Linked DNA regions of Homo sapiens: regions 1, 2, 4, 5 and 6 are each linked to region 3. Evidence: promoter capture Hi-C in 16 types of primary human blood cells and fetal thymus (Javierre and others, 2016). All regions are on one chromosome and are shown on one strand. Each heading gives the region's core, a stretch centred on a gene start or on the middle of the fragment in contact. The rest is flanking DNA. Distances are from core to core; before and after follow the strand shown. Region 1 has its middle 6.7 kb from the start of FGF1. Region 2 overlaps FGF1 (fibroblast growth factor 1). Region 3 holds the start of GNPDA1 (glucosamine-6-phosphate deaminase 1). Region 4 has its middle 140 kb from the start of FGF1. Region 5 overlaps FGF1 (fibroblast growth factor 1). Region 6 has its middle 25 kb from the start of FGF1.

Region 1 (4,449 bases), core at 978-3,477, 680 kb before region 3:
TGCCTGAGTTTAAAGAGCAAAGGGCACAGGTGATGGGTCAGAGAGCAGGAAGAAGTACATGTATTTTAGACCCCTCTTCTGCCACCTGGGTGCCCAGTACCTCTACTGGGAAGTTCTTATTAGATTCTACCCAGGGGTGAGGGGTCACTCCCCTGCCCCAGAGCCTACAGGAATGTCAGGGATTTCACAAAAAGAGGTGTCTCTGGGACTCTGCAGAGAGTAGGGTGCTTTTTAATTAAACGGGGGTAGGGTGGTCTTTGCGGGAAATGTTGGCTAGAGGGTAGGCTTTAGAATTTAAGCTTGCCCCTTGGGCTGCCGGTCAGTACATTATGGCCCTGCCCTTTCTCCTACCCGCCACCAGGGTGACCAAGCTGGGGTCCTCCCTCAGGGTGTTTGGCAGGATTTGGAAGGCAACCAAATTCTGATCTCAAAGAACACCAAAATCTTGAGATGGTGATTTCTTGTACCATCTGTGCCCCCACATCAAGCCACTGGACTCGGCTGATGCAGTCATCTTTGTGCTGGCAAAACTTTTGGTTCAAGTGTATCTTGTTTCTTTGATGCACACTGGCCTATTCATATGGCTTCATATCTTGGAAAGAGCAGATCCTATTGATTTACGTCATTTTCTTTATCTTTACAATATCCTGTGGCAGTGTGAAAGAGCTGGTGTTCTCACCTTCCTTCCATTGATAGCACAACTGAGGCATAGTGAGAGTGAGTCGTGACCTTTGCACAGAAGGTCCCAGGCCAGGAATGTAAGAGATCTGAGGTCTTTAGAACCCAAATCTGCTTGGTTCTCCATGAGGTTATGATGGTGGGCAGGGTGGGGGGGAATACATATATACAGAGAGGCAGATAGACATAGATAGATAGATAGATAGATAGATAGATAGATAGATAGATAGATAGATTATAGATAGATAGAGATATAGATAAATTCTTCGGGTAAATCTTTAAGAGAAAAAAAAAACACTGCTAGACCCAAGAGAAATGAACACATGTTCACACAAAAACTTGCCCATGAATAACAACAGTATAATAATAGCCAAACAGAAGAAACACCCCAAATGTTCATCAGCTGATGAACAGAGAAATAAAATGTGGTGTATCCATGCAATGAAATATTATTCAGCAATAAAAAGGAAAGAAATGTTGATATGTTCTCCAATACAGAAGAACCTTGAGGACATCACACTAAAGGAAAAATGCTCATGTTGTTTGATTCCATTTATATGAAACGGCCAGAACAGGAAAATCTATAGAGACAGAAAGTAGATGAGTGGTTGCTTAGGCCTGGCAGGAGGGAGGAATGGGGAATGAACTGCTAATGGATATGGGGTTTCTTTGGGGGGTGACAAAAATATTCTAAAATTATAGTTGTGATGGCCGCACAACTTTGTAAATATACCAAAACCACTTAATTGTACATTTTAAATGGGTGAACTTCAGAGTATGTGAAGTATATCTCAATAAAGTCATTTAAAAACCCAAACCAGCCTGGCCAATATGGTGAAACCCTGTCTCTACTAAAAATACAAAAATTAGCCGGGTGTGGTGGCGCACGCCTGTAATCCCAGCTACTCGGGAGGCTGAGGCAGGAGAATAGCTTGAATCCTGGGAGGTGGAGGTTGCAGTGAGCCAAGATCACTCCACTGCACTCCAGCCTGGGCGACAGAGTGAGACTCTGTCTCAAAAAATAAAAAAATAAAAATAAATAATTTAAAAAACCCAAACCACTGCTATTGAAATAATTAACCCCGCGACAGGGCTTTGCCAAAGGATGTGATCTCACCCTGTAAGCTCTGAGAAGCTTGTCTTGTCCCATAGAGCCTGGCCATAGGTCACTCACACAATTCCACTGAGAAGAAGATAGATGGAAAAGATAGGATCAATTAATTTCTCCTTAGAGTCTAAACCAGGAGAGTTTTTTTCCTCTTTCCTGGACAGACATTTTAGATTTTTTAGAATCAGTCTCACTACTTTATTTTCACTTCTGGGTTTTAAATCATGCTTCCAAAAGTGTTTCCCATTCTAAGATTATAAATCTTATTAACTAATGTTTTCCTCTAAGGCTTGTCTCTTTACACTTAAACCTCGGATTCATCAGGAATTTAAATAAGAAACTGGGGATCCAGATTGGGTTTGTTTGTTTGTTTGTTTGTTTGTTTGTTTGTTTTTGCCAAATAGCTAGACAATTATTAAACCAGAAGTTCTTAATTTGGGGTTAAAGTGTGCCTGGGGCATCTTGTAACTTCCTGAAATTAAATGTAAAACTGTGTGTGTGTGTGTGTCTGTGCGTGTGTGTGTGTGTGTGCGTGTGTGCGTGTGTGTGTGTGTGTCCTGGGGAATAGAGCTATAGATCTTGTCAAGATTTTCAAGAGGTTTTGTGACTCAGGAAAACCAGTAGGCTTTCTATATTTCATAACCTGCTTGGGGTTATGTTGCATACACTCCAATATACCAAGACCCAATCTAAACCAACAGGATAGTTGTTAAATCATTACAGGGGAGGCCTGAGAGATCACTCTGTTCTCTGTCACATGTCAAGTGAGAGTTGCACCATCTTTTGGTTTGATGTTCTGCTGAGGCAAAGAATGAGAAGTCTCTCAATGGTTCCTCTTGGGTCTATAAAGCTTTAGTTTGTTGTTGCTGCTATTCTTTTTGAGACAGGGTCTTTCTCTGTCATCCAGGCTGGAGTGCAGTGGCGTGATCTCAGCTCACTGCAACCTGCGCCTTCTGGGCTCAAGCAATCCTCTCACCTCAGCCTCCCAAGTAGCTGTGACCACAGGCACATGCCACCACACCCAGCTAATTTTTGTGGGGTTTTTTTTGGTAGAGAAGGGGTTTCATCATGTTGCCCAGGCTGGTCTTGAACTCCTGGACTCAAGCAATCTGCCTGCTTCAGCCTCTCAAAGTGCTGGGATTACAGGCATGAGCTACTGCACCTGGCCTAAACTTTAGGTTTTTAATCATCAATTGACAAATCAATGGAGATAGTGCACAATTTTAGCTGACAAAACTTGGGGCCTTCCTGTCACAAAGACTTTGAGGAGGCAAGGTTCACAGCCTATAGTCCCATAAATATAAATAAATGATAAACTGAAAACAAAACTGCCATTACAAAGAAGGTGGCAGATCCTATGTGCAGGCTCATGCATTCATGTAATAAATGTATATGCAACACCCACTATATGCCAGGCATCGTCAAGACTGGTAGCTCTCAAAATGCAGTCCCTGGACCAGGAGCAGTAGCAGCAGTTAGAAACTTATTAGAAATATAAACTCTATTTCAGTAGGCCCACCCCAGATCTACTGAATTAGAAACTCTGAGGTTGGAGCCCAGCAATCTGTGTTTTAACAAATCCTCCAGGTGATTCCAGTGCACACTCGAGCTTGAGAACCACTGGTCTCGGTACTGAGTATATAACAGTGAGAAGACAAAGTCCTGCTCTCCTTGTGGAATTTGTATTCCAGTGTATGTGGTAGGGGAGACAGAACAAGTAAGTAAATATTTTATTTATTTTATTTTATTTTATTTTATTTTATTTTATTTTATTTTATTTTATTTTATTTTATTTGAGACAGAGTCTCACTCTATCACCCAGGCTGGAGTGCAGTGACACTATCTCGGCTCACTGCAACCTCCACCTCCCGGGTTCAAGTGATTCTCCTGCCTCAGCCTCCTGAGTAGCTGGGGTTACAGACGCCAGCCAACATGCCTGGCTAATTTTTGTAATTTTTAGTAGAGACGGGGTTTCACCATGTTGGCCAGGCTAGTCTCGAACTCCTAACCTCAGGTGATCCACCCGCGTCGGCCTCCCAAAGTGCTGGGATTATAGGCATGAGCCACCACGCCCAGCCTAAGTAAACATTTTATGAATACAATAATTTTGAGAAAGTAGTAAGTAGTATGAGGAAAAAGAAAGTGGGAGATGTAAAAAGACAGTGATAAGGGGCTGATTTAGAACGGGTGGTCAGGCTGCAGGTGGCCTGAGCTGAGACAAGAATAACAGGAAAGAGCCAGCCAGGCAAATAACCTAGAGGCAGAAAATAAATGCATAATTCTGGGCAGAGGGAATGGGAAGTACAAAGGCCCTGAGCTAGGACCAAGCCTGGCCCGTTATGAGGAGCAGGTGACTGGAGCACGGTGAGCAATGAGTATGTTGGGGGAGAACTTGCAGAGGCAGGTGGTGGTAGTGAGCTTGGCTTTTGTTCCTAGTGCAAGGGAAAGGCCCTGGACAGGTCTGAACAAATACGTACATGGTCTGATTTACCTTTTAGCAGGTTCCTTCTGAAATGAACTGTAGAGGGTTAGGGTAGAGCAGGGAGGCCAATTAGGAAGATACCCCAATACTCCAGGCAAGAAATTTGGTGCTTGGATGAACTAGACCAATGTGCAAACATCTATTATTAAGTGAAAAACAAACAATTACGCAGGACATTGTG
Region 2 (4,105 bases), core at 704-3,203, 600 kb before region 3:
TCACATTCACTACTCACACTTACAAAGTACAGCTCCCAGGCCGGGCGCGGTGGCTTACGCCTGTAATCCCAGCACTTTGGGAGGCCGAGGCAGGCGGATCACGAGGTCATGAGTTCAAGACCAGCCTGGCCAACATGGTGAAACCCCATCTCTACTAAAAATATAAAAATTAGCCTGGTGTGGTGGCGCATTCCTGTAATCTCAGCTACTTGGGAGGCTAAGGCAGGAGAATTGCTTGAACTGGGACCCGGGAGGCCAAGGTTGCAGTGAGCTGAGATCGTGCTACTGCACTCCATCCTGGGCTACAGAGACTCCGTCTCAGGAGAAAAAAAAAAAAGTGCAGTTCACACGTTAGTTTCCTGGTCTCTTTTTGGCCTCTTTCTTTTCAGTTTTTAGAGTCACCAGCACTTCCTTCTCCTAAATGGTGGGGCAAGTATATGTTTTAACCAATTCTAATGCTCATTGGTTTTGTTTTTTAATCCTTTGAGGTGTAAGTGATGCATTTTCACATTAATAATATAAGTTTGTATGTAGTGGCTACATATAATGTTAAAGGTATATTATATATAATATGGTGGTTTCTGTGTTCTATCTCACATTAGAAAATAGCTAGGATGAAAACAGCCTGCGTGCAAGGGACAGACCCACCTTCTCTGTGCCACATGAAGCTATGTGGAAAGCTGCAGAATGGGCAGGAACCAGGCATAGCCTTCATAATGATCTGTCTCATAACATTTCCTTTGATATGGTATTTGCCCTTTAAAAACCCCACTTACTCCCACTCTGTGCCTTTTTCCCTGGTTCCAGTTCTGTTTCCCCCAGCAAATCCAGAAGCTTCCCTTAACATACTAACCCTTTACTTTCCCTGTTGTGTCCCTGAAAGGCCTCCTGTGCCTTTGGCTGCAGGTCCCGAACGTCCAGGCCATCTGTGCTATCTGCTTCGCGGTACCTCACCAACGCAACGTGAGGGTGGAGGGCAGAACCTTGGTCCTGGCCTCTCAGCTTTTGTGGGTTTCAGCCAGACCCTAGGTGTTATTTTAGTGCAACTTTGGTGTTTAATTTGAGGATGTGTGTGGACCAGAAGGAGGGACCAAAACATGATTCTTTTCCCCATGGTCAGATGATTAAATTTGAAGTTCTAAAAAATGCAGTTTGGTCCAAAGCTGTGTCCAATTGGGAAGAGAGAAAAATGCCCTGGAAACCCCTCCCAGGCCTGGGACCATCCTTCCTTAACCACCAGCCACCTCACAGGCCCGCGGACTGCGGGCATCACCTGGGCAGGCTGTGCTTACTCACTACCCGGGAACCCTGTGCCCTGGAGCTGTCCTTCCTCTCTTCAAAGTGCATTTTGTGCCTTTGCTGGAAGAACCGACTACAGGTTTGTTCAATTTCTTACAGTCTTGAAAGCGCCACAAGCAGCAGCTGCTGAGCCATGGCTGAAGGGGAAATCACCACCTTCACAGCCCTGACCGAGAAGTTTAATCTGCCTCCAGGGAATTACAAGAAGCCCAAACTCCTCTACTGTAGCAACGGGGGCCACTTCCTGAGGATCCTTCCGGATGGCACAGTGGATGGGACAAGGGACAGGAGCGACCAGCACAGTAAGCCCATCTCTATGGCACCCCCCTTCCCTTTCTGACATCTTCTGTAGTCAAGGTGGGAGGAAGGTGCACATTTAAGTACAGGTACTTGCTTCTCCAAGGTTCTATTCAGGCATGACACATTCAGAGGTGGAGTCACATAAATGCGTAAAATGTCTGGGTTTAGAAAATAGGGACTTGTGGGGGCCACCACTTACCCAAACGTGTCCTATTTCAAGTTTTTTAAAGCACTCTCTGCTGACCCAACAGAACGGGCTGCCGGTGCTCAATTGCTGTATGTTTTCCCAGGTTTCTGTAACTAGTGAAAGATCTGGCCCCGAAGGCTAGTCAGGGGCCTGCACGCTTCATGATGGGATGAACCAGACAGGCATGGTGGTAAATCCTGCACAGAGATGTGGGCTCCGTTTCAAGTCAACTGACTCTCCTGGTTATGTTTCCACTGGGCTTGATTTGTGAAATCCCAGTTCATAATCGTAGTCTTACACATCATAAATTATGCAGCTTTCCCTCTGCGTATCACGCAGATGTGGCTGTGGTAACCAGCAGTGGTAAAGTCATTCTCCAGACCTTATAGAAACTGGAGAGTAGGAGCGACTAGCGCCAAATGCTGAATATCTCTTCCAGGACTTCCTGGCAGCCCGGTTCTCAGAGGTGTTGACAAATGAAGGTATGACTCTAGAGAAAAGAATCTTCTTGACTATCTAAGTATAAAAAAATCTCTTCCTTCTGCTTTGGTACTTCTGGCATTGGTGTGTATGTTTGATATTAGGTGTCCAGGTCCTATCGTGATGTTATCTGAGATTCCCTGAGTCCCACTGCAGCATCAGAGGTTACAAAGAAGCCTAAAGTCAGATCCAGTCCCTGCTTAGAGGGTCAGCAATCTCAAGAGTCAAACTTGCCACAAATCAAGAGAAGGAAAATCAGGAGACATAGAAGAAGACAGGCAGGAAGGAAGTTTCTGTAGGACTGGCTTCAAAATGCAATGCAAAACACTCACTTTGACATGATGGTTTATACATCAGGTGGTCTTAATTATTCATGGACCATGCACCAGAGGTTGCAGGCTCTAAGAACAAATGACCACTTCGCTGGTGCTCACGCTGTACCCTCAGATGCACAGGTAATGGGGATGGATGCTGGCGTTTACACGAGGTGACGTTGTTCCTTCCTCCCCACCCACTGCACAGACCCTGGAGATGAGGAGCAGGAAGGCTGAGGCTGGGGCTTGCAGCTGCAGAATTAGCTCTTTTGGGCTTTGTTTTGATGGCTTATCTTCAAATGGGCTTGCTGAATGTCTTATACTCAGTGAAAAACAGGTGTCAGAATGAGGCAAAAAAAAAAGACTCTAGTTTGTTAAATAGCATACATAAGCAATATTCACTGCAAATTAGCAAACTTAGATTGTAGTCCATTGTGTCAGGCATGATACACAACTCACGTGATCTGCCCCACACAACACGAACAAGCTTTAATTCCTCTGGGTTTTAAGTGTTCCTAATACGTCTTAACCAATTTTCTGAAAAAGTAGGGAATGCTCTCCGGTCCTCAGAACCCAAGAGGAAAGACAAACTTCATGATATGTTCCTTGGGGTTAAGCTAGCTCTTCTGGAAACCTTGACTTCTGGAGTAAAAAAAGGCTCCAATACTGGAATTTCTGTAGCAATGGAAAATGGCTTAACTGTTGCCATTCCATCATTAGCACAACAGACTGCACTCTGGGTGTGTAACACTGGCACAACTTCTGGAGTCCACAGTGGATTTGGCCGCCTGACTTAAGATGTCAGGAGCCCCTAGAAAGCAGCACAACGTAGCCCTGGGAGTGCAGGTGAGGATTTCTGCATTCAAGGAATGCCAGATTATTTTCCAAGTGAACTTGGGCAACTGCACCTTTCACCCTCACTTTTCTCATTTGTACAAAAAGAATACTAATATTCCTTGCCTCACAGGTTTCTTGGGAGGGTTAAATGAGATAATATAGTGAGAGTTCTTGGCACAGTGGCTGGCACAGAGGAACAGCACAGCACGTGTTGGTTCATATTGCAGTTATCATCATCAAGCTTTCCATATAATCAGCCTAGCATATGGTAACACAGGGTCGTATTGAAGGACCTTCCAGACTCCTCTTTTTAACAGTACTGCCACCCAGGAAAGTCAAGGGGCTAGATGCAGGCTTAGATTCAGCATCTCTCTGCCAACACTCGGAGTTGTTGTGTGGGCCTATTATTTGCTTACTCTGGAACTAAGAACAAGGACCAAGAGGACAGAGATCAGAGTAAGTGGGGTGGGTGGCCAGAAGCCCATCCGTGTACCTGTCAGTACTGGAACTGGATATTCCACTGAAGAGTCAGCAGGCTCGAGTTCAAGCCTACTCTGCCCCTTTCTACCTGGAGCAGCCCTGGACAATTAACGTTCTTGCCATTATGCATTCTTTCTGTTTGCAAACTCTGCGAAAGAAGCTTCAAGCCCCCCAGCCCTGGGACGCTTCCAGTCCTTTCCTGACTAGA
Region 3 (4,053 bases), core at 1,130-3,629:
TAAGGGGTAAGTAATAACAGCTGGCTGTGAATGCCATGCTATGCTAATATTTCATTTAATAGTCACAACAGCCACACGAGGGCAGTATTACTTAATTTCCACTCAATTCTTATGTTTCAGGTAAGAAAACTGAGACCTGGAGAAGTTGAGTCATTTGCTTGAATTACTCACTAAATAACCAGAAATTAGCCAGACCAGAATTGAAATGCAGGTCTTTCCGATTAGTCCCCACGCTGATCCAAGAGCCTCCAGGCTTCGCAGAGACCCTGCACTGGTTCCCTGCAGAAGGGGTAACTCAGGGGAAATGGGCTTAGTCACCAGAAGTCAGTCACTCTCCTCCTGGAAAGGTCTGGATGCAGATGCTGCAGACCTGGCCCATGTTATCAGACGTGATCGGAGATTGGAGTTGGAGCTTCATTGTGAAACATCTGCAGTCCTCAAGCTGAGACAACATTTCTGGCTGGGGGCGGTGGCTCATGCCTGTAATCCCAGCACTTTAGGAGGCCAAGGCGGGCAGATCACCTGAGGTCAGGAGTTCACGACTAGCCTGGCCAGCATGGTGAAACCCCATCTCTATTAAAAGTACAAAAATTAGCTGGGCATGGTGGTGGGCATCTGTAATCCCAGCTACCCGGGAGGCTGAGGCAGGAGAACTGCTTGAACCCGGGAGGCGGAGGTTGCAGTGAGCAGAGATCACACCACTGTACTCCAGCCTGGGCAACAGAGCGAGACTCCATCTCAAAAAAAAAAAAAAAAAGATTTCTGACTGAATTTAAAAATAAACAAAAACTACACCAACACCGAGCCATTCACAGCCTCTCAGGATTTGGAAAACAAAACAAAACAAAACAAAATAACACTGAGGCAAAGAGCAAGTCCCCCACACTGTAAAGGTATCAGCTCCACCATCTGGTCTCATCAGGGCCTCACCAGATGAAGCCTACCCCTAGCAAGCTGGTCTGGAGCTGCAGTTGGGCCCAAGGGCTGGGTGAGCGCCTGGGGCTGTCCACAGTGAGCAGATTCAGCAGAATTGCAGAACGTGGCCACCCGGCTGACTGAGGAAGGCCCTGTCCCGTGGGCATAAAGCCAGGATTCCTTTGGCCTTTTGCTGCTGGAGGAAAACTAGGCTGATTCAGAAGGTCTCACCACTGCTCCCTAGCACTGACTAAAGTCCGGGATGTCAGACTATGAGGTCATATATCACAAGTCTCTGTACGCCTTTGATCCCCAGTTTCCACATCAATAAAATGGCGGTAATCATATCTGACGATTGGGCGGGATTCTATGAAATAATGCGCACAAAGCTCTGGCAAAACCCTATGTAATGGAAGATGTTACTGATGACCAGCACTCAAGTCCTTCCTCCAGCCTCCGCATGGAAAGTTCCCAAGTGTCCCTAGAAGTCTGGAACACTCTAATGTTGACTGGAAAGAATAAGATGGATCTCTTTTTCTGATATGGAAGCGTCCCAAATCCAGTCATACCAGCTGGGAGGCAGTGCCCGCTAGCGGTAAAAAGCATGGATTTTGGATTTGGACAGATCCCCCTGAATTGAAGGCACAAGGGAAACCACTTGTGCCTCTGGCCAAGTTAATTTTTCTCTCCAAGCGTCAGTTTCTCCACCTGTTAAAAAGTAACGGCAAACCTACCTCACTGGAGCTTAATAAGGATTAAGTGAAATAATGCAGGTCAAATATCCGAGCCTTGATATATATAAGCCTCATGTGTATGTGTTCCCATTTATGTAAAATAACAGTGTAAGCATATTCAAAGAAAGCAATTCAGAATGTACTCTTAAACTAAGCAATGGTTATCTTGGTGTGGGGAGTTGGGGAAACCAGGGGCCTGCCTTTTTCTCTATTATATAATGCTGCAAAGTTTGATCTTTAAAAAAGGACATTAAAAAGCCCAATTGTACTTTAAACAACACAAGTTTTAATACTTGGGTAAATAAATGGCATCTAAACAAAGAAAGAAACTGAAGGCAGAGCCAGGCCCAACCCTAGGAGACTGAGGAAGCGATTCTGCTTTGCCTGCCCCCAGCTCAACCCCTGCACTAAAACCCCCCGGCCCCAGCCCCAAGGTCCAGGGGGTTGTATTCCTGGGGGCGACCCGGCGCCCCTCAAGTCTCCCTCCTCTTGCACACACACACACACAAACCAGACTCGAATCCCCGCCTCCCAAGGGAAAGTGTTTTTTAAGGTCTGTTCCAGGGCCTGCCGGGGCCAGGGACCGAGGTGGGACTGAGTGGCCGGAACTCCTCCACCTGGGAGAGTCGGTCCGGGTAGCTGCGGCCAAGCTGAGTCAGCCCGGCGGGCGGCGCACGCGGCGCCGCGTGACCCGCAGCCACGTGACCCGCGCGGGGCCGGGCCGCCGGCGCAGTCGCTGCAGCCGCCGCGGGAGGCGTCCGTGTAAGTGGGTAGCAGGGCTGGCGGGGACCTTCCTCGCGGGCCGGAGCGCGGAGCGCTGCCCCAGCCCTACGGCACTCGGGGTCGGGACCCCGGGGAGCCGCCCTCACACATTTTCCAGGAGGGATCGGAGGGGCGATGGGGTGGTAATGGGGGTGGGGGACACGCTGTACCCCACCGACGACCGCGCGGGCCACCTTCGCCTCTTTCCTTCACACTCCCACTAACCGCAGTGCTGGGGGAACAAAATGTCCTCCTTCTGGAGCGATTACCTTTTCCCTTTTGTGCTTTGGGGGAAACTGAAGACCCAGAGGGGTTCGCAAAGCAAGGTGGGCCAGTAGGAAGACCCCTCCGCTAGTCCAGAGAGAGCACACAGCTCCCCAGGCAGAGCTCATTGCCCCACCTGCTCTAGTGGCCCAGCATGATCCCATGACCTCTCTACTTCTGGAGGAAGAGTCTTGGGGTAGACGGCGGGGAGGGGGTAGGGTATCCCGTTCCGGTAGGGGCAGGGATGAGGGAGGCGGGGCTGAGCCGAGCATCTATCTGGATGGTAACAGCCAACGTAGAAAATACTAAGTTGTTTACATGCATTCTCTCATTTCATATTACCCGTCGTGAAGTCTGTGAAGTAGGTACTATTGTCCCAATTTTTACATAGGAGGAAACGGCTCAGAGAGAACTTAGGTCCTTTGACCGAGGTCCTGCAGGTGGTAAGTGAAGGAGCTGAGATTAGAACCCAGATCTGCCCCCAGTGGCGCCTCCTCGTGGTCTGTGGGTGGTGGAGACGACTGGCCTAGCCTCTTAGCTCCTCTGTGAATAGAAAGGCCTTTTTCCTGGCTCAGACAGCTTGGGAAGGGGATTGTTGCTGGGTAAGAGAAGCTTCTCCCACCACCTCCATCTCTTTCTCTGCCCCTTACCATTGATTCCTTTCTGTCATCCCCTCTCCCCCACTGCAGGACAAGATGAAGCTCATCATCCTGGAGCACTATTCTCAGGCGAGCGAGTGGGCGGCTAAATACATCAGGAACCGCATCATCCAGTTTAACCCAGGGCCAGAGAAGTACTTCACCCTGGGGCTCCCCACTGGTGCGTTCTTGGATGGAGAGGGTGCCGTGGATAAGGGTGGAGAGAGTAGGCAACAGGGGCCAGGTACACCGGCTCACTCAGCCAAGGGACTTCACGGGGGCTCTGGGGTACTGGTGCTGAGAGAGCACCTTCCTGCCCCTTCCACATACAAAGGACCCAGCTTCCCTTATGGGTTGGTTTAGTCGCTGCCTGTCCCTGCAGAATCCTGGAGCAGAAGGGATCTTGGTTGGCAGGAAGAATTTGATTTTTAGGCTACATCCTAAGTCAGCCCTGTCCACCAGGGTTTCTTAACAGAATTAAGTCCTGATACCCTAAGGCATTCATTTTATGTAATGAATTAATTTCTCTTCTCTGCATCTAGAGGGGTACCAGCTAAGTACCATCCTTGGGAGAATTGAAAAGATAGTCACTTAGGTAATTTTCTGTAAGGCTTAATTAAACACAGGACCTAAATAAAAAACAGTTCTAATTTCTTTTGGAAAAAATCAAAATGTTGCTTTTTCAGAAAGATATTTTGACCCCAGCTCCTCAAGACAAATGTCCTGATTATTTCTTTCAG
Region 4 (4,072 bases), core at 1,573-4,072, 530 kb before region 3:
ATTTGGAGAAAAGATTTGCTACAACCTAGAGAGGATGATGAGACATCCTGGGATTTCAGTCACCTGTGTTTCTCCCATTTCTGCCACCCGCTCCAGAATCTTGAACATAATGGATAGGATATGCTAGCTAGCTTTTGGAGACAGGAACCATGTCATTCCTACAATGGTTCCATAATAAACGTCAATGGAATACAGTAGAACTGGCCTGTGATGTAATTTAGAGACTACTTCCTGTGAATGAGGCAATATGTACAGGAATAGAATGTTATTTATGCTATGGGAAAGGCCCATGGGGCTTCAGACTTAGGTTTAAGGAAAAAGGAATCCACCAGCTGATTATACTAGATCCCAGGGGACTAAGGATAGTAAACAGTCATAAAGGAATTGGGGCTTCAGAAATTCCCAAGGTTAGGAAGGACTAAATCCTGTTTTGGAGCAGACAGTGGCAGACTCCCTGGACGTTCTTGCCTGACATCAATCAGTCTAGGGACTGGTGGTCCATTAGGCCTCTGCAAAGAAGGGACCTGAAGCTTCCCTGCCCCAGCCTTACCTGTCATTTACTGCCAGGCTTTCCCAGACACAGGATGGTTATTCACTAGGAATACAAATGAGGGTCCTTTTATGTTTCCTAGCCTGCAGGCCCATTAGTTAGCAGTAAAAAGCCAAAATGTTTAAATCCTAAAGTGAAACCTCCATGCTGTGGTATTCTGTCTTGTTAAAAACAAGTAACTTTATGGTTCTTTGATCAATAAATAGCATAAGGGTATAGAGATAAAGGAAAAGAACATTAGCATGAAGACAACAGACTAAATAAGGCCCCTGAATTACTCAGAGGGGTGGAATTTCAACCCTGGTAGATTTCCCTGGTAACTATGTAGGAGAATTGTTCCAGACTTGAGGACTGTGATCATGCAGGTTTGGCATCCGTGTCAGCTGACACTGGCCCCATGTTTGGCCCCATCCTCTTGGGCCCTTGGCTTGTCAGGGCTCAGTGGTCACCATGCCAGTGAAGGTCTCAAGCTAGGACTTCACCCTCCTACGTGAGACTGCCTACTTGGCCTCTCCCTACAGGCTCAACAAAGCTTCTAAAACCTATACCCAAAGTCAACCCTTGAGTTCTCCTCAAGCCTGCTTTTCCATCTCGCTAAATGGCCAGGAAATCATTCTGCAAAGTGCTCAGCTTGACAGCCTCAAAACTATCCCTGGCTCCCACTCTCATGTCCCACTTTCAAATCATCAGCAAATCTCACTGGCCCTGCCTTCAAAGCATATTCAAAATCTGACCATCTCTCATCACTTCCACTAGTCTGGGTTGCCATCCCTCTCACCTGGATTACTACAAAGCCTCCTACTTGGTCTCGTTCCTCCCCTCTTGCCAAGCCACCCATCCCATTCTTTTTGCCACACAGCAGCCAGAGGAAGCCTTTTAGAACCTAAGCCACGTCATGGTGCCCATTGGTTCTAGACCCTCGAGGGGCCTCCCCATGTCATACAGAGTAGAAGCCACAGTCTGCCCAGGCCCCCAAGCCCTCTGTGACTTGCCGCAGCTCTCCCATGGCACCTCCTACACCCGCTCCTGTGGCTAACTCTGCTCCAGCCTCCCTGCTACTCCACAAAGGAGGTAAGCATGTGTCCGGCTTTAAGCTGTGCACATGATGCTACCCAGGCAGCATTTCCGCCAGCTATCAGCAAGCTTAGCTTCCTAAGCTCTCATTTCTGATAAGGATGGCCCCTTATCAGAAAGCTTCCCTGACCACCCCTTTAAAATCCAGCTTTACTTTTCTTCATAGCACTTATCCCCACTTGACAAAATATATATTTATGTTTTACTGTCTGTCTCTCTCCACTGGAATGTAAGTTCCATGGATACAGGATTTTTCCTTCTGAGAACAGTGCTGGGTACAGAGAAGACACATATTTTTTACATGAATAATGTGGGCACATTGTCCAATTAACGTGTACCATAAGACAAGACAAACAGTAACAACTGTAACAAAAATCCCAGTCACCTGTATGAATATGTATAATGTCTTTTTTCATTACTAACCTTTTAAAAAAATAAGGAAAGAGGAGGAGGAAATTTTTGTCGGTTGGATGAAGAGGGGAGAAAATCATTTACTTAGAACCATGTTTCGGGCACTCTTCTAGGTCTGGAGGTAGAGAGTCAAGATAGATAAGCTCCCTGTTTTGTGCAGCTTATGTTAGAGAGGAAATAAAGAGGTGGAGGTGGACACTGAAGAAGCTGGGAATCACACCATCAGTAAACAAACAAATGAACAAACAAGATAATTTCAAATAGTCGTGAATAATATACATGTTCAAGAAAACTTACTGGAAATTACCAGTAAAAATATACCTGTTTTATGCATGGGACTTATCAGTCTCTTTTTCCCATTCCACCCCCAAAATCCTGCACTTTCAATAAAATATATAAATATTCATACTTGATATTTATTAAAACAAGCTGCTTATCTTAGAGTAACTACTTTGTAACTTCTATTAAATGATGAGCTGTGCTTTGTTGAAGACAATATCTCTTGTACATGGATGGATTTAGCAACTGATATTGTCCTTTGTCATATGCCCAGAAGGTACCCATTAGAAGTTAGCAGATTTTTCACAGGTCTTCAAAAGTGAATGTCTGGAATTCTTTCCAACCTAACCTTGAATCTTTGTGGATATTTCAGTACACTGCTGAAAAGTTACATGCTTTTATTTTAGTAGAGTTGGTGAAAATTCCATATGGATTCCTCCATTCACAAAACTGAATGAAAACACAGAACTCCTTAAAATAAAAATAGACACACTGGGAATCACCAGGGAAATGTTACTTATTCTCTGAGCATTCAGCTTCTGCTATCCCTAGTGGTGGGAACCCAAGCTGTCATTCCAATTTCCTATAAACTTGGCAGGACTCTGTGTCCATTTGGAATTGTAATAGCCCGGATTTCAGTTCAGGGAGGAAGGAAGGAGTCATTGCATTCCTCTGAAAAGTCCTCCAGCAGAATCTCAAGAAGCCAAAGCCTAAATGTCAGTGTTCTCCCAAAGGAAAGACATGGTTCCATCTGACGAGTTTACCTGGTATAACGCTCTATAGCCAATTCTGGCAAGCCCTCTTGGCTGGTCTTTTTTTGGTAATGTTGCTTGTTGCAGAAAATTCTGGTTCCTGCATTAGGTGTTTTCTTTTTTCAGTTATGAACAGATTTTTCATACTAAATGCCCTAGACATTTCAGACTGGAAGTTCCAGGCTGTGTATATTCTTGCTGTTCATTCTCCACTCCTGCATGCTTCCTGATTTAGAATGTGGGAGCTGCAAGAAAGGCCAACCAACTCGCCCTCCCAGCTCTCATCACCTGTGGTCACAGTCAGACAAAGGAGTTGAATCCTGTTAAAGTGGGGGTCGGGCTGGGGGGTGGTGGGGGGGCGCGGAGTGTAGACCTCAGGCAGAGACAGAGTGGGAGGCAGGAGATGCCTCTAAATGGCCCAGGTGAGAGGTATGTTGTGGGGAGTGGAAAACTCTAAGGCTTGCGGAATCCTGATCAAGCCCTGAGTCTATGGCTCCTACTTCCTTCTCCCCCATTTTTGGTTCCAAATAAGTGATTTGCTTGCAAACGGATTCCACAAGCAAGTCATTTCCTCTTCCTTGGGGGACAGCAACTGTGACGAGAGGGAGGAAGGAAGAAACACACACCTCTTCTGAACACCCGGGATCGTGGTAAGGTCTTTGTGAGCCTTGGTGAGCCGCAGCCTCTTCATTCCACAGCATGCAGCATAACTATGGAAGGATTCAAAAATTTTGCTTTTAAAATTATTGGGCTCCAAGGAGGTGATGTTGAAACAATTCCTCAGAAATGAGAAAATCTAACATACAGATTGTTTCCAAATGAAATAAAGCTTTTAACGAATACTAAACTTAAGAACTGATGGAGTTGATACAATCGGTTAGCTATTATAGGCATTTAATCCACTAAATTTGGGGGGTGGGGTTCTTTCATTTGTTGGAAAATATATTTATATTTTGCTGTCTAAGTCTGGGCCCAGTGGCTCACGCCTATAATCCCAGCACTTTGG
Region 5 (4,124 bases), core at 782-3,281, 580 kb before region 3:
TGAAGTTGTCATCTCAGCCAAGGGTCCCAATGTGAACACAGCTTCGTTTCCTCTCACTGCCCACTAGGGATCAGGAGATTAAATCATCAGCGTAATAGGTAACCTCTAAAATGCTATGTGCTCAGTACAGATCACCTGGGACGGCTTTAAGGGGTTTGGCAGTAGGGGATTTTTTTAAGGTAGTTCTTCCAAGTGGTAGTAAAATCAATCCATCAGTCAATCGCTTAGTCTCAGACTCATGATTGAATCTCACGCCTCTGCCACTCTGGCAAGTCACTTACCCACTCTGAGCTTTGTCTAAAATGAGGACAGTCATGGATCATAACCGCCTCACACAGAGCGTACATGGGTTCAGTGGTGCAACACACAGAATGCGCCCATCAGAGTGGCTGGCACGTCACAGACCAGTGGTGGCTGTAAGACAAGTCATCAGCTTAGAAGCCCCTCACCCTCACTGTGTCTTAGGTTATGCCACAGTTTTATGGCTTTTCCCTCTTTAAATAAATTTTGACGTTTATTGTAACCTGCTTTCACTTATATAAAAATATTGAGGGAGAACTCCCAGAATCTAATTTCCGATAGGCTCCAGGCACCCCCTTCTCCCACCATAGCCGTGGCCATCACTACAATTCACCTGAAATATGATCTTAGTATATTACGCCTAAGAATGTTTGCATTTTCCCCATTGATAAAGAGAAGTTCTAAGATATCTCAAAGCTCTGCTTCATGCTCTTCATAAAATTTAGGCACTAATCCATCCTGATTCAAACTTGTGTGTGTGGAAAGGATATGTATATTTTTTTTAAGTTTGAAAGGCTATATATCAAAATACTGATATAGTTATCTCTGGGGGTGGAGAATGGGTGATTTTATAATATGTGAATAACTTCCTGTATTTTCCAATTTTTTTTTTACAGTAAGTATATGTCACCTATGTAATTTAGGGTGGGAGGGGAAACATGCCAAATATAAAAAAGAAGACAATTTAAACAATAGACATGAATCAATAGTTAAGCCACATGTCTTCAGCATTGTACCAAGTGCATAATGAGTGCTAACAAATCCTGGTGGAGGGACGGAGCACCGCTGATCTGGCCTGCTGACTCAGCCTGTGACTCAGCTATTTTGTGTGTGTCAACTCCTCCAGTATAATAGAGACATCAGGTGGGGAATGTGGCCATCCTCACCTTCGTCACAGAACACAGGCCTGATGCCCACTATGAGGTGTCAGGCATGAGTCCTCCCTACAAGGGAGTGGGCAACCCACATAGGTCCAAGCTGTCTACCTCCTTCTACCCCCAACAACATGCATCAAACACGAATGTCTGCACCAAGTTCCTCTAGAGGCAGCAGAGTCATCCAATAAAATATTATATTTATATCTCATCTTGTTCCAATATGATCTAAAGTGTCTCACCCTGTTGTCATTTCACTAGATTATGAATGAATAAGAAGCAGGATACTTCCTGTTACACAGTTCCTTACTAAGAAAGGCTGACTTTACTGACTGCTTTATATTATCTCAAGAATCAAATTAAATGCATTACTTAGCTGGTGAGCACCTATTATTTGCAAGGCTCTGTGTCTGGGGGATGGAGAGAAGACCAACAAGATTCCATCTCCTTCCTCACTAGGGTTTATAATCTAAAGAAACAAACATGCTCACACATAGAGAACAATGAACAATATAATTGGAAACCGCCAGACAGGGAATCACCAACCACTGTGGGTGAAGAGAGACTGCAGGGGTCACACGACTTGAAAAAGGCAAAGCAAAGTCAGATGTCTCAGTTCCAGCATAAGTGTTTTAATATACCTGTTTTAGACCCAAATGTAATAAATATATTCTAAGATCTTGACGAATAGAAAGTTCAAAAACTGAGTTCCCCTTCCACCAACAGATTGACTACAAGTAAGCAAAATAGTGGTTGCTGGATTTTTTTCAAGTAACTGCACTCTTTAATACGTTGTGGCTGATTTTCAACTTAATAAATGTACAGCTGCACTGGGTTCTACTGTACGGATATTCTTTTACCCACTTAACCAATCACCTTTCCATGGACATATAGGTTACTCCTAATCGCTTGCCCCTATAACCATTGGTTCAGAGACCATCCTCAAAAATACAGTTGTACACTTACTCAACCATCTCCTAGGGGTAGATTCCTAGAAGTGAAATTGCTGAGTCAAAGGTAATACATCTTGTAAATTTTGATACATATTGCTAAATTGTCTTCAGAAAGTTTCCACTAATTTTTCTCGCCAACTGTGCATGGCAGTGCCTAGTTCCCACATTCTAAGTCTTGCAAATGGTTTTTTATCTTTGCACAAATTTTTTTTTATCTTTGCACATAGGATAGCTAACATATGATAAATAATTTTTAATTTGCATTTTTCTCGTTAGCAGTATTGAATGTTTTCATAGGTTTGTTGTTCATTTTTAAAACATCAAATAAAACATGACATTTTGATGATATCATAAGTCTATATCCATATAGCCTTATCTAGTCTGTATGTACATAAAGAGATGTAAGGCAGGATGTTTATCAGTGATTAACAGTTGCCTATATCTGGGTGGTGGGTTTTGGGATAGTTTTTTCTTTTTACAAAGTAAAGGTATATTTTTAAAAGTACAATTCTTCTTATAAGTAGCATTTTTATTACTCTTTAGAGACAGGTTCTTGCTCTGTCACCCAGACTAGAGTGCAGTGGTACAATCATAGCTCACTACAGCCTCAAACTCCTGGGGTCGAGCAATCCTCCTACCTCAGCCTCCTAAGTAGCTAGGAGGACAGGCACACACCATGGCACCTAGCTAATTAAAAAAAAAAAATTGTAGAGAATGGGTCTTGCTATGTTGCCCAGACTGGCCTCAAATTCCTGGGCTCAAGCAATCCTCCTGCCTCAGCCTCCCAAAGTGTTGTAATTACAGGCACACACCATGGCACCTAGCTAATTAAAAAAAAAAAAATTGTAGAGAATGGGTCTTGCTATGTTGCCCAGACTGGCCTCAAATTCCTGGGCTCAAGCAATCCTCCTGCCTCAGCCTCCCAAAGTGTTGTGATTACAGGCACACACCATGGCACCTAGCTAATTAAAAAAAAAATTGTAGAGAATGGGTCTTGCTATGTTGCCCAGACTGGCCTCAAACTCCTGGGCTCAAGCAATCCTCCTGCCTCAGCCTCCCAAAGTGTTGTGATTACAGGCATGAGCCACTGTGCCTGACCACAAGTAGCATCTATTTATAAGATTCTTTTTATAAGTAGCAAAAAATAAAGCTATTTTCATTTTAAAAAATCTACATTCTAGGATATGTTTCATGCTTAGGATAAATTTTGCACAAGCATATCTTCATAACAATACTCAGGTAAAATCCTGACGTTAGTGAAAATCACCAGGATAAAAGGCATTTTAGCAGCTTTTTGTTTATTCTTTAAGTCTAGCCTTCAAGTTAAAACAACAGCAACAACAACAACCCACTACATCACAGTCTGGTTTTTACCTATTTGGAATGTTTTTCCATGGTCAGGCCTGTGTGCCAGGCCACTACAGAGATGAAAGATCCAGCCCTGCCCTCAAGGTACTTACAGTCGAGCAGAATGTCCCCAGTGGGAGATTCTAGAGTCCTGAGGACTCTTAGAAGTGCTCTTATCAGTAGCATCTTAATTACTTTACAATGGATTTTAAATGGAAAGGAAGTTTACAATAATAGCAAATGCATATTGACAGCTCTTTAGTGCCCGGTGCTGTTCTAAGTCCTTATGACTACCCTGTGAAATAAGTTCCACCATGACCCCAATTTTCCTGAAAAGGAGACTGAGGCATGGAGAGCTTTAGTATTTTGCCCAATGTCACACAGCTAGTAAATGGGGACCCCCATGTGAAACTACTCACTGATTGTCCTACTCTCTTTTGGTTTTATCTTTTTAGCAGACACCAAATGAGGAATGTTTGTTCCTGGAAAGGCTGGAGGAGAACCATTACAACACCTATATATCCAAGAAGCATGCAGAGAAGAATTGGTTTGTTGGCCTCAAGAAGAATGGGAGCTGCAAACGCGGTCCTCGGACTCACTATGGCCAGAAAGCAATCTTGTTTCTCCCCCTGCCAGTCTCTTCTGATTA
Region 6 (3,947 bases), core at 582-3,081, 700 kb before region 3:
TTTTTTCTTTTTTTTTCTTTTAATTGAGATAGTGTCTTGTTGTGTTGCCTAGGCTGGAGTGCAGTGGCACCAACATCACTAACTACAGCCTTGAACTCTTGGGCTCAAGCGATCCTCCTGCCTCAGCCTTCCAAAGTTCTGGGATTACAGGCGTGAGCCATTGCACCTGGCCCTGGAGTATTTCTTGTGCATAATAAGGGAAAATTTGGGAAAGGATTCTGAATTGTGCAGTACCATGGGTAGGATGGGTTGATGGGTCTACCTAAGAGAAGGCAGGGAGTTACATACTAACGAAAGCAGAATGGATCAGAAGGCGAGAGAAAGAATAAGAGAAACAAGCCAGGGATGAGCTGGGTTTGGGAGAATTCAAGAGATAAATTAAGGAGGACTGAAGTAGCTGCTGGGCTGTTGATATGGTTTGGCTGTGTCCCCACCCAAATCTCATCTTGAATTGTAGTTCCTATAATCCCCACGTGTTGTGGGAGGGACCCAGTGGTAGGCAATTGAATCATGGGGGCGGTTACTCTTTTCTATGAGGGAGATGCACAAAGGGAAAAGAAAAGACACACATGCAATACCTTCAAGGGTAAACAACCTTTATCCCATGTAAATGGCAATGCAGATATAATAAGCAAATGATACAAGCAAATTGCAATGGGAAGGGGAAAAGGGAGAAGATATATATATATAGCCTGGACTACTGGGAGGCTAGAAGTTAATGGCAAGGGCATGCCAACTTTCACCCCACTTCTCCCATCAATATAGACTATATATATATACACACACACTCACCAGACGATGGAGGATTCATCACCAGACCAGAAGCAACAGCCTGGGCTCCAGAGTCGGCCACTACACTTACCAGACTATAGAGGATTCATCACCAGACAGGGAAGCAACAGCCTGGGCTCCAGAGTTGACCGCTCATCCATGCACAGATGAGGAGAGGTCTCATGAAGCTTTGGCGTGGTATGGGACCCTAGTTCTTTTTGTAACGACTTATTTGGCATGAGGCCCAGTCACGAGGGCCCTTCATGACTGGACTCAAGGAACACAAAAAGGTCAACTTGTTTTTATGATTGTTTGTTGTTTTTCAATAACTAACATACAGGAACAGATTTCTCCAAAACCGTCTGGATGAACGCCTCAAGGGGCTCATGCAACCTGTTCTGGGACTTGGTGACCATTGTTTGTGTCCACATTCAATTGAGTTCAAATTTAAGATTTAACTTTTCCTCCACATATCCCCATGCTCTTCTTGAGTTCTCATGAGACCTGATGGGTTTATGAAAGGCTTTTCCCCTTTGCTTGGCACTTCTCCTTCCTGCCGCTATGTGAAGAAGGATGTGGTTGCTTCCCCTTCCGCCTGAGGCCTTCCCACCCCTGTGGAACTGTGAGTCAATTAAAACCTCTTTCTTTTATAAATTACCCAGTCTCAGGCAGTCCTTCATAGCAGTGTGAGAACGGACTAACACAGATGTCATGAGGAGGACTTGAGAAAGAGACAAGAGAAGAGGATTCTTCAGAAATGTTGGTGTTATGAATGGAACCCAAACCCCACCCTTTGGCATCTTTAAGAGATTTCAGTAAAGACATAAATTGATTTAAAAACTGTGTTTTGGTCAAGCATAGCGGCTCACTTCTATAATCCTAGTACTTTCAGAGGCCAAGGTGGAAAGATTGCTTGAGGCCAGGAGTTTAAGACCAGCCTGGGCAACATAGCAAGACTCTGTCTCTCAAAAACAAATTAAAATTAGCCTTATGTGGTGGCATACACCTGTAGTCCCAGCTACTCAGGAGGCTGAGGTGAGAGGATCACTTGAGCACAGCAGTTCGTGGCCTCAGTGAACTATGATTGTGCCACTGCACTCCATCCTGAGTAATGCAGCAAGACACCCAACTCATAAATAAATAAATAAGATAAAAACTCTGTTTTGTATGATGGTCTGGTGTTTATTCAAGGCAGCCTGGACTACTGGGAGGCTAGAAGTTAATGGCAAGGGAATGCCAAGTTTCACCCCACTTCTCTCATCAATATAGACTATAGTCCAGATATTTTAAATTAGTATCCTATAGGGTAGCTGGGTGTGGACCCCAGATGCATTTTATTTGGCTAGTTGAGATTTAAGTTTTTTTTGAACCAACAATTGAAAATTGGGATTTCACATTTTAAAAGCCTGCATTTCCTTTCCTACTTCTTTTGAAAAAAATGGAAAAATTTGGCAATATGAGGCCCTTATTACCACAAGGCAAAAATAGGCTCATGCTTTCTAGTTAACCTCAGTGCCCACCCCTCACATAAGGCATATGTATGCATGTATACCTGGCCCACTGCCTGCATTTGCAGGTGGACCTTGGAGATATTGTGGGTTTGGTTCCAGACTGCCGCAGTAAGGCAAGTATTGCAACAAAGTGAATCATACAAATTTTTGGTTCCCAGTGCCTATAAAAGTTATGTTGACAGTATGCTGTAGTCTAGTAAGTGTGCAAGAGCATTATGTCTAAAAATGTACATACCTCAATTAAAAATACTTTGCTGCTAAAAAAATAGTAATGATCGTCTGAGCCTTCAGTGAGTTATAATCTTTTTCCTGGTGGAAGGTCTTGCCTCGATATTGATGGTTACTGACTGATCAGACTGGTGGTTGCTGAAGTTTGAGGTAGCTGTGGCAAGTTATTAAAATATGACAGTAATGAAGCTTGCCATGTCAATGGACTCTTCCTTTCACAAAATATTTCTCTGTACCATATTTGGTAGCATTTAATAACAGTAGAACTTCTTTCAAAAGTGGAGTCAGTCCTCTCAAATGCTGCTGCTTCTGTATTAACTAAGTTTACGGAATATTCTAAATCCTTTATTGTCATTTCAACAATGTTCACAGCATCTCTACTAGGAGTAGAGTCCATCTCAAGAAATCACTTTCTTTGCTCATCCATAAGAAGCAGCTCCTCTTTCGTTCAAGTTTTATCATGAAATTTGTATTAGGGTTCTCTAGAGAGGCAGAACTTATAGGATAGATGTATAAATGAACGGGAGTTTATTAAGGAGTACTGACTCACATGATCACAAGGCGAAGTGCCACAATAGGCCATCTGCAACCTGAGGAGCAAGGAAACCAGTCCAAGTCCCAAAACCTCAAAACTAGGGAAGCTCACACAGACACACCCAGGAACAATACTTTGCATCCTTCAATCCAATCAAGTGAACACTCAGTATTAACCGTTACAAGATTGAAGCAATTCAGGCACATTTTCAGGCTCCACTTCTAATTCTAGTTTTCTGTTTCCAGCACCTCCGCAGTGACTTCCTCTAGTGAAGTCTTGAACTCCTCTAAGTCATCCGTGAGGGTTAGAATCAACTTCTTCCAAACTCCTGCTAATGTTGATATTCTGACCTCCTCCCATGAATCGTGAATGTACTTAAGGGCATCTAAAATGGTAAATTCTTTGCAGAGGGTTTTCAATTGATTTTGCCCAGATCCATCAGAGAAATCACTATCTATGACAACTATAGCCTTAAAAAATGCATTTCTTAAGTAATAGGACTTGAAAGTTGAAATGACTTCTTGATCCATGGACTGCAGAATGGATGTTGTGTTAAAAGCATGAAAATATTACTCTCCTTGTACATCTCTGTCAGAGCTTTTGAGTTACTAGATGCATTTGCCAACAAGAAGTAATATTTTGAAAGGAATCCCTTTTTTTCCCTGGAGGAGTAAGTCTCAACGGTAGGCTTAAAATATTCAGTAAACATGCCATAAACAGATGTGCTGTCATTCAGGCTTTGTTATTTCATTTATAGAGCACAGGCAGAATAGATTTAGCACAATTCTTTGTTTTGAGACAGGGTTTCACTCCTGTCACCCAGGCTGGAGTGCAATGGCGTGATCTTGACTCACGGCAACCTCAGCCTCCAGGCTCAAGAAATTCTCCTGCCTCACCCTCCT

The links. Contacts are between HindIII fragments. The CHiCAGO score rates a contact against its expected background, and 5 or more counts as called.
Region 1: a contact is called between a fragment that was not itself captured here and the fragment with the promoter of GNPDA1 in region 3, in 4 of 17 cell types (naive CD4 T cells, naive B cells, total CD8 T cells and 1 more). The highest score is 6.3, in naive CD4 T cells.
Region 2: a fragment that was not itself captured here is called in contact with the fragment with the promoter of GNPDA1 in region 3 in 1 of 17 cell types (endothelial precursors); the score reaches 5.1 in endothelial precursors.
Region 4: a fragment that was not itself captured here is called in contact with the fragment with the promoter of GNPDA1 in region 3 in 4 of 17 cell types (endothelial precursors, M2 macrophages, activated CD4 T cells and 1 more); the score reaches 9.7 in endothelial precursors.
Region 5: a fragment that was not itself captured here is called in contact with the fragment with the promoter of GNPDA1 in region 3 in 1 of 17 cell types (endothelial precursors); the score reaches 5.8 in endothelial precursors.
Region 6: a fragment that was not itself captured here is called in contact with the fragment with the promoter of GNPDA1 in region 3 in 6 of 17 cell types (naive CD8 T cells, naive CD4 T cells, total CD8 T cells and 3 more); the score reaches 7.3 in naive CD8 T cells.

What each region holds. Positions count from the first base shown.
Region 1 is chr5:142,690,554-142,695,002 of GRCh38, reverse strand. It overlaps a transcript of FGF1 not described here. Among named protein-coding and RNA genes, the nearest start is that of FGF1, 6.7 kb to the right of the region's middle. The HindIII fragment of the contact is 823 bases long and covers 1,816-2,638 here.
Region 2 is chr5:142,611,455-142,615,559 of GRCh38, reverse strand. It overlaps FGF1 (fibroblast growth factor 1), which reads left to right. Exons shown (of 4, transcript NM_000800.5): 2 at 1,399-1,601. The coding sequence starts at 1,433. Among named protein-coding and RNA genes, the nearest start is that of FGF1, 73 kb to the left of the region's middle. The HindIII fragment of the contact is 2,233 bases long and covers 837-3,069 here.
Region 3 is chr5:142,011,353-142,015,405 of GRCh38, reverse strand. GNPDA1 (glucosamine-6-phosphate deaminase 1) reads left to right here and starts at 2,379. Exons shown (of 7, transcript NM_005471.5): 1 at 2,379-2,411; 2 at 3,365-3,494. The coding sequence starts at 3,371. RefSeq lists a cis regulatory region at 840-1,112 and silencers at 2,254-2,523, 3,195-3,254. The HindIII fragment of the contact is 4,254 bases long and covers 1-3,289 here.
Region 4 is chr5:142,541,970-142,546,041 of GRCh38, reverse strand. No RefSeq gene overlaps it. Among named protein-coding and RNA genes, the nearest start is that of FGF1, 140 kb to the left of the region's middle. The HindIII fragment of the contact is 2,151 bases long and covers 1,747-3,897 here.
Region 5 is chr5:142,595,291-142,599,414 of GRCh38, reverse strand. It overlaps FGF1 (fibroblast growth factor 1), which reads left to right. Exons shown (of 4, transcript NM_000800.5): 4 at 3,931-4,124. Among named protein-coding and RNA genes, the nearest start is that of FGF1, 89 kb to the left of the region's middle. The HindIII fragment of the contact is 5,090 bases long and covers 1-4,124 here.
Region 6 is chr5:142,708,730-142,712,676 of GRCh38, reverse strand. No RefSeq gene overlaps it. Among named protein-coding and RNA genes, the nearest start is that of FGF1, 25 kb to the right of the region's middle. The HindIII fragment of the contact is 1,740 bases long and covers 962-2,701 here.